Regions from separate parts of the Homo sapiens genome. Here regions 1 and 2 are each linked to region 3. The links are contacts of gene promoters, found by promoter capture Hi-C in human tissues and cell types (Jung and others, 2019). All regions are on one chromosome and are shown on one strand. The core of a region is centred on a gene start or on the middle of the fragment in contact, and the rest is flanking DNA. Distances in the headings are between cores, read along the strand shown.

Evidence for each region. Contacts are between HindIII fragments. The study calls those that stand out against the background at their distance.
Region 1: a fragment that was not itself captured here is called in contact with the fragment with the promoter of SLC31A2 in region 3 in 1 of the 25 tissues and cell types used here (aorta).
Region 2: a contact is called between a fragment that was not itself captured here and the fragment with the promoter of SLC31A2 in region 3, in 1 of the 25 tissues and cell types used here (liver).

The regions. Positions count from the first base shown.
Region 1 is chr9:113,571,860-113,574,580 of GRCh38, forward strand. The region is part of intron 17 of RGS3 (regulator of G protein signaling 3); the gene reads left to right. Among named protein-coding and RNA genes, the nearest start is that of RGS3, 110 kb to the left of the region's middle. The HindIII fragment of the contact is 5,501 bases long and covers 1-2,721 here.
Region 2 is chr9:113,428,691-113,431,390 of GRCh38, forward strand. It overlaps C9orf43 (chromosome 9 open reading frame 43), which reads left to right. Exons shown (of 14, transcript NM_001278629.2): 13 at 210-273; 14 at 482-1,000. The coding sequence ends at 696. Among named protein-coding and RNA genes, the nearest start is that of C9orf43, 19 kb to the left of the region's middle. The HindIII fragment of the contact is 8,820 bases long and covers 1-2,700 here.
Region 3 is chr9:113,149,757-113,152,456 of GRCh38, forward strand. SLC31A2 (solute carrier family 31 member 2) reads left to right here and starts at 1,251. Exons shown (of 4, transcript NM_001860.3): 1 at 1,251-1,324. The coding sequence starts at 1,319. The HindIII fragment of the contact is 13,784 bases long and covers 1-2,700 here.

The DNA.
Region 1 (2,721 bases), core at 110-2,609, 420 kb after region 3:
CTTGAAATAGATTTTTATCCATGTATGAAGTAGAGGTCAAGACTCATTTTCTCTGGATAAATATTCAATGTATTCAAAATCCATCCTGTCTCACTATAGGGCAATGTCACCTTTGTCAGAAATTGAGGGGCAATACGTGGGTGGGTCACTTGAATTTTGAAGAATGAGTAGAGCTTCAGCAGGTGGACAGGGGAGGGGAAGGTGCTCTAGGCAGGACGTACAGTGTGAGCATAGGTTTAGAGGGGCCTGAGGGTAGAGTGTAGCAGACTGGCTGGAGGGAAAAGAGGAGAAACGGTGTGGTGGAGAGGTTGGCGGGGGCAGAACACACAGGGTTAGAGGATGGGACTTTATCCTAGAGGGATGAAGGCATTTTGAGCAGGAGACCAATATAGGCAAGTTGGTGCAGGGCCAAGGGAGATAAGAGAAAGTCTCATGACAGAGGGAGGCAGGAGGGTGGGTTTGGAGAAGACTGTAAATTCAGCCAAACCTAGCCCTGACATCACCCCCAAGCAGAGATAGGGTGTGCCTGCCTCAGGAGGCAGCGGTGAGGCTGAGTGTGCCTGAGGCTCGGGAGGGTGACCTTCGGCCACAGGGTTGTGGCTTAGTCTCATGTCCACATGTCCACTCCAGTGTCCTCGAGTGAAAAAGCCTCTTTTTTTTACTGGATGGGCACCCCACCACCACCCAGTGCCCCCAGCGCTGCAGGCCCTGAAGGAGGAGGGCAGTGGGGCAGACTGGGGCAGACAGATAAGGCAAGGGTGTGTATCTGGAAAGGGGGACCTTTCTGTTCCTCCTGCCCTTGATGCCCCCACAAGGAGACCTGGCTATGCCTTGGGCCCTGAACTCTGATCTTTCTAGGCTAGCTGAGATTCAGAACTGGACAGACATGCTGGGAAGAGCAAGACCCAGTGAGGGGAGTGATTTGGCCCAGGCCATGCAGTGAGCCAGACTGACCCAGCCTAGGGGCAGGCTGAGCACAGACTCATCTGCCTTCTCAGCTTCCAAGTTTCCCCCCCTGAAACCTGCAACTAACAGGACTCCTGTCCTAGGCTGCTGTAAGGGTCAGAATACGTCAAGTGCCCTGTCCCGGAATTGGATGCAGGAGAGGGAGCTGATGATGTCGATGATCGTCATGAGAGTAACAATTATGATTACAGAAATTGCAGATGCTTATTGAGCACTTACTAGGTGCCAGGCCCTATGCTAAGCCCTCCCCACAGAGCTGTGATGTGGGTACTCAGTATTCACATTGCCATTTTACAGATGAGGAAATCGAGCCTGAATAGGTTAAGCAGCCTGTGCAGGTACCTTGACGTAGGAGGTGGCAGAGCCAGGGTTTGAAGCTTGATTTGCCTATCTCCAAGCCCCAGTTGTTCATCAGCAATAGGCTTCCCTCCTTCCACCTCTGGCTTTCAGTCCTCCCTATTCTCAGAGCTGTTGCTTGGAGTAAAACCTTAGTTTTTGGGTTGGTCCCTGGTGCCCACTCATGAGAGAGTCAAGCTGTGGAGAGGAAGGCAAGGAGCAGAGGGGCACCACCATGGGCTACTGTGTGCCAGGCACTGCCTCCATATGCCCCGTAGCAGCCGTGAGGAAGCGGCACACTGGCTGTGAGGGAGGCGGCACATGGATAGGAATTGGGATTCACCCCCAGGCCCTCCTGCTTCCAAAGGCTGACCTCATGACTGCAGTGCTATTTGTGTCCTTCCCTGAGGTCATCCTGGCATGGCAGAGCTTCTTTGATTAACCTAGCAGAAAACATCACAGAGAAGCCACACGCTTCTAGCTCTCCCCACCTGGAAGGGGACCCTGGGAGGGAGAGGATTTGGGAGGGTCACTGGGTGTACAGAATTCTGCACTGCCCCTCCCAACACCAGGTGTCAGTCTCCTGCCCCTCAGTCTCCAACCATGTGGAGTCCGAGCGGGGCCCCTGCGTCTGGTATTGCTCTCCACTGCCTAGCACAGAGCCAGGCCCAGGTTTGTCCTCAGGAAGCATCCTTTGAAGGAAGGGAAGGAGGAAGTGAAGACGGCAGGAAAGGAGATCACAGAGGAGTAGAAAGAGCAGGGCTTTGGAGTCAGGCAGACCATGGTTTCAATTCTGACTCTTCCACTGACTTGCTTTTTGATCTTGTGTAAGTTACTTAATGTCTCTAACTCCTAGTTTTCTTATTAAAAATGATACTGATCTCATAGGATTGTTGGAAGTAGAGCCTAAAGTATAAAACAACTGTCACAGTGTGTGGCATGCAGTAGATGCTCAGTTAATGATCTCTCTCTCTCCCCTATCTTTGTCATCATTATCTGTTTTGAACACCTCTAGCTTCACCTTCCTTACCTCTGCAGCGCTAAGTAAACATTGCTTTCAGGGTAACGTTGGAATTCCTTAAAATATCCATGCTCCTGCCTCATCCAACCACCTCCACTTCCTTGAATGTTCCCTGCTGGCTCTGGCTCAGCCTGGAATATCCTGTCCCATCTTTTCCCCCCTATTACCTCCTCCCAGAGCCATCCTAGTTGTCCCTGCTGCCTCTACTTCCACAGCCTCCTAGCATGGTAGCAGGTGGGTGAGAGATGGACCTGGCATCTCCAAGGCAGAGAACATGGCTTGTTGCTGTTTGGCAGCAATAGCCAACACAGGCCCTGGCGCATGGCTGCAGCTCTGTAGGTATTTGCTGAGTAAGTCTTGGGGGAAATGGTGTGAATAAGCCAGACATGATCCTGATG
Region 2 (2,700 bases), core at 1-2,500, 280 kb after region 3:
ACTGCAGGGAATGGGAAGGAGTGGTTCTAGGTTCATTTGGACAGCATGGAGGGCAAAGAACGTGTGGTAAAAGCTTCTCTTCAGTCCCAAGAGGTGGGTCTCTGGCTCATCTTAGATGTTAATTTCTCCAAGAGAAGCATCTTTTAGAAAAATCCTTTTAGTTTCCTAAAGTCTTGATTCAAATTTCCTTATACCCCAATGAATTTCAGGATTCCACGGAGAGACCAAAGATGAACTACTATGACCATGCGGATTTCCACCACAGTGTAAAAAGTAAGTTACTAGAGTAGAGGAACCTTAGTAAGTGACTGAGGATAGGGAGAGTTGAACCTGTGTTGACCAGGATAGTTTACCTCCCTGAAGGCACAGTTCCTCTATCTCAGAGAAGTCCTAAAAACACCCCATTTTTCCTTTTCTGTCCTCCATTTGTTGTAGTTGAGAGGAGTTTACAGGTGCAATTAATGACTGCATCTTCTTTTAGGTCCTGAATTGTATGAAACAGAACCCACTAACAAGGACATTAGTGCTCCAGTGGACGCTGTGCCAGAAGCCCAGGCTGCCAGGCAAAAGAAGATCTCCTTTAACTTTTCAGAAATTATGGCTAGCACAGGCTGGAACTCTGAGCTCAAACTACTTAGGATTCTTCAGGACACTGATGATGAGGATGAGGAGGACCAGTCCTCTGGGGCAGAGTGAGAAGCCTCTGGAGGAATAGACTGAAGGCATCCCCTGGGGCAGCCGTGTTCCAAAGCGGGATGGCTGGTATCCTGAGGGCAGCAACGTTTCACATAAGGGCAAGAGGAGAGGGGCTTCTGCTCTCTGGAGCCTTTACCAGGGCCTGAGCTCTGAGCTTAGGGATTCCATTTTCTTTGTTCACCTCTACTTGCCTCTAAAATAAATGTAGGAGAAAAATCCCCAGCCTTTTTAAATTTAGATTATTTCCTTTCCATTAGGGTCAGAATAATTTTGGTGATTAAACACAACTGCTTTTCAATCAAAAGACTTATTTTCTGTTTCTAGGAGGAAGGGAAAGATGTTTCTTGGTATCTGTTTTCTGGGTCACTCTTATCTCTGAAGTTCTGAAAGGTTTCCAGTTGTAGGAGGCTGAATTTGGCTCATGGGAGCTGCCATGATGCTCCCTAGATTTTCCTCTCATTCCCTAGAAATGGTTTCTTTTGGAGATGGGATCTACATTGTTATCAAATAATGTTCATTGTGTCGCTGGTCTTAAGCTCCTAGGCTCAAGCAGTCCTCCCTCCTCAGCCTCCCAAAGTGCTGGGATTACAGGCATGAACCACTGTGCCCAGCCAAAAGCTCTAGTTTCTTTCTTTTTTTTTTTGAGATGGAGTTTTGTTCTTGTTGCCCAGGCTGGAGTGCAATGGCATGATCTCGGCTCACCGCAACCTCCGCCTCCTGGGTTCAAGCGATTCTCCTGCCTCAGCCTCCCGAGTAGCTGGGATTACAGGCATACGCCACCATGCCTGGCTAATTTTGTATTTTTAGTAGAGATGGGGGTTTCTCCATGTTGGTCAGGCTGGTCTCGAACTCCTGACCTCAGGTGAGCCACCCACTTCAGCCTCCCAAAGTGCCGTGATTGCAGGTGTGAGCCACCGCACCCGGCAAAAAGCTCTAGTTTCTAAGGAACTGAGTCTGCACAGGAAAGTTTCAGTGATGCTCATAAAGGCTCAGAATTTCAGAGTCTGAGAGAACTTCTAACTTGGTTTTGGAGGTTTTTTTTTTTTCATGTTTTAGTCCTTAAAAAGATATAATGTAAAAATTTCAAAATTACGTAAAAGGAAAGAGAATAATATAATGAAACTTTGATGTATTCAGTATCTTAGATCTGGGCAAGGAAGGCCCTTGGCCCCGTGCTTTAGAAAGTCCTCTGGTGTTCTGGCTGTGCTGCCCCTCACGGCAGAGAAATCTGCAGAGCCAAGTGGACGTACACCTAGCTGGAGTCTGTGACTCCCCTTTTAGACTTTGTTCCTGGTATTTGGAACCCTGGAATTCCCTGCCCAGTGGCCTCTTGCCTACTTCCATGGCTTCTGCAGGCCTCTTTTGTGGGTCCATCTCCCAAGAGTGGACTATCCCACCAGTGTGTGTGCTGCTGGGTTCAAGGGGGTAAGAGGAGGGTATTTGGAGAGGGATGTGCCCAGAGCTTGGACAGATAGACTGGGGTATCAGCATTTGTTGCCTTTCCCAGTAAGGATGGGATCATGGGGATGAGAAGTGAGGGCTGGTTCTTCTAGTGCTGCATGTTAGTGTGGAACCTCAAGGAATCTGTGGATTTTGAATGAACCTGGCTTTCTAGATCATGAAGGTATACTGGTCAAGGTAGCAAGTTAGAACATGTTTTATTTAACAATTTGTTAGCTTAATTTATAGTTTTTAAATGTTCAGACATGGTTAGTAGACCTGTTTTTGTACACTTATCCTGAGTCCTGCAAAACATTAGGACTGTCCAGAGCCATCATTTGGGACAAATTTTAAGGAGGAAGAATTTAACCCCACAATGTAGAGATCATTAATTTGCAGTCCCATTTTAAAGGTAAGGATAGCAAGGCTCAGAGAGGGGATTTGTCTTGACTGAGCTCATGAGCTGGGAAGTGGGGCTAAGCTGGAATCTGGGTCTCCTAGTGCTAGGTCAGAGCTCTTTTCATTATTCCAGTCTGCTGTTCTCTCACCTCATTCTCCAGAAAC
Region 3 (2,700 bases), core at 1-2,500:
AGATGGCTCACGTCTGTAATCCCAGCATCCCAGCACTTTGGGAGGCCGAGGCGGGCAGATTACGAGGTCAGGATTTCAAGACCAGCCTGACCAATATGGTGAAACCCCGTCTCTACTAACAATACAAAAATTAACCAGGCATGGTGGTGCGCGCCTGTAGTCCCAGCTACTCGGGAGCCTGAGGCAGGAGAATTGCTTGAACACGGGAGATGGAGGTTGCAGTGAGCCAAGATCGCGCCACTGCACTACAGCCTGGGCGACAGAGCGAGACTCTGTTTCAAAGAAAAGAAAAAAAGCTGTGTGACCCTGAGGATTCTACCATTTACTGAACAAGCTCCCACTGCCAGGTTACATGATAATTTAACATGTATGTTTTCATTTAATCCCTATGACATAGATTTTATTATTATTTTCATTTTACTGACCAGAAAACTGAGGTTCAGAGATGTAAGCTATTTGCCTACGGTCCCAAAGCCAATAGTTGATGCGTATGGATGTGAACTGAGGTTAGCTCCAGGCTCAAGGTCTCTGCTAATACTGTCCTTAGTAAGGTTTCTCTGAAGAGCCTCTTTACTCATAGGCTGATTAGCAAAGGGTTCCTAAATATGCTTAAGAATCAATAACCATTAAAAATCCCTCACCCTACAAGAAACTCCCCATCAAAAAACTGGATCAGTGAAATGAACAGGCAATACACAGAAATGGAAGTACCCGTAAGAAAAATAGTTTACTACCCTAGTAATCAAAGAAAAACAAAATTACACGGGTGTATTCCTTTTGGCTTATCAGATTGGAAAATATTTTTCTAAAAAGAAAAATGTAATTATCTTGTAATGACTACACTAAAAATCTAGGGCATAATTGACTTAATTTACTCCAAATGTGTTGCTATTGCGTCCATAGCACGGACTTGCCCATTTCAACTCAATATATGTTACGCTTGGGGTAGTTTATTACAATGAGCAATAAACATTCTCATAATCGCCAAGACAAGCCAAGTGCAAAACAGGAAGGGCGAAGACAGAGGGCAGCAGGTGGTCCCTCTCGCTCGCGACTCCGGGAACGCCAAGCCTCAGCCCTTGGGAACCTGGGGCGAGGCGCCTGGGTCTCGGCCAGGGGGCGCGCCCGAGGACGCCGAAGTAGGGCGCGTGTGGGGACCACAACTCCCAGGCGCCCGCGCGCCGCCTCGCCCGGACCACGTGATCCGTGCGGCCAGGGTAGCTATCGCGGCGGCGGCGGCGGCGGCGGTTGAACTGACTCGGAGCGAGGAGACCCGAGCGAGCAGACGCGGCCCTGGCGCCCGCCCTGCGCACTCACCATGGCGGTAAGGGCCGGGCGCTACGGTGAAGAGGGTGGGCGGTTGGGGCGGGGTCTCCTGGAGCTGCCATCTCGGCACCCCGAATCCTCGCTGCCGCTGGCCCGGGGCTGGTGAAGGGTGTGTTGGCAGCATTGCCAACAGCTGGAACAGGGTTGGGGGACGCGGCAGGTATAGGTTGCGGTGGCTCTGTGGTTTTCCTCTTTATTTGTCCCTCCTGCTGGGAGGCAGTCCGGCTAGGCGAGCAGTTACCGAGCGCCCGCGGTGGCGCGGCTTGAGAGTGGGGGCGCGGTGGCTGAAGACAGCTGGGTCCGGGGCCCCCGGCCCCGGACCTCTGGCCGGCGCCCCAGGGCGGAGAGCAGCGCCTTGGGAGATTCCAGGAAGGCTTCCACGAAAGGGAAACCCCCGGCGCATTTCAGCCCGCAGCCCCGCGCGCACACCGAGCGCACATCCCCGGCCCTGCTCTTGTCAAGTTTGTAGCCTGATTCTTCGGGGAATAAAACAGAACCAGCTACTTTCCAGCTTCCCTACACTTTCAGTCAGAAAACAGCGTTTCAGACAAGCTGTTTTTCTTGGTAGGGTTCACCTGGGCTGGAGAGAACGACAGCTTGCAAGACTCGTTCGTCTTTGAAGAAGTCATATCATTTTCTTCATCCCATGAAGAATGTCATAGAATTTAAGATACAGGAAGCTCAGCCTGGGCAACATAGCTAGACCCCGTCTCTACAAAAATTAGCCACAAGTGGTGGCAGGCGCCTGTAATCCCAGCTACTCGGAGGCTGAGGCAGGATGAGGAGGATTGCTTGAGCCCAGAAGTTCCAGGCTGCAGTGAGCCATGACCTTCGGCCTGGGCAACAGAACAAGACGTCCTCAAACAAACAAAACAAAAAAAAAAAGATATAGGAAGTGTATGTAGGCCATTTAGTGAAATGATCAGCCGTCCTTTAAAAAGGGAAATAGATGGAAAGCACTTGCAAAAGTTCCCCAGCCAGTCAGCCTAGCAACTGGGACCTTCATCTCCTTCCCAACCCTTGTTTACAAATAAGGAAGCTTTTCTCAAAGTGTAAGTAACCCCAAATGAAGAAATATAGAAGAAAACAAGTTCCAGGGATTGCTCCCTCCTTCACCACAGCCCCACCCTGAAAAAAGCACAAATCAGTTAAACTTTCAGAGGCCAAGATTCATCCCAAGTAGGAAAACAAGATTGGGGCCCTGCCCCTTGCCTATCTGACCACAAAGCCCTTTAATTGAAAACTGTAGCCCAGATCGCTTCTCTCAAGTCAGGGTGTGCTGACTTCCATCTTTTCCTCTAGCAAAAAGGCAAAAGTAGAAAGGGTTGAGTGACAGGTGAGTCTTCGTCCCTCTGGGGCTTCGGACTCCGTGGG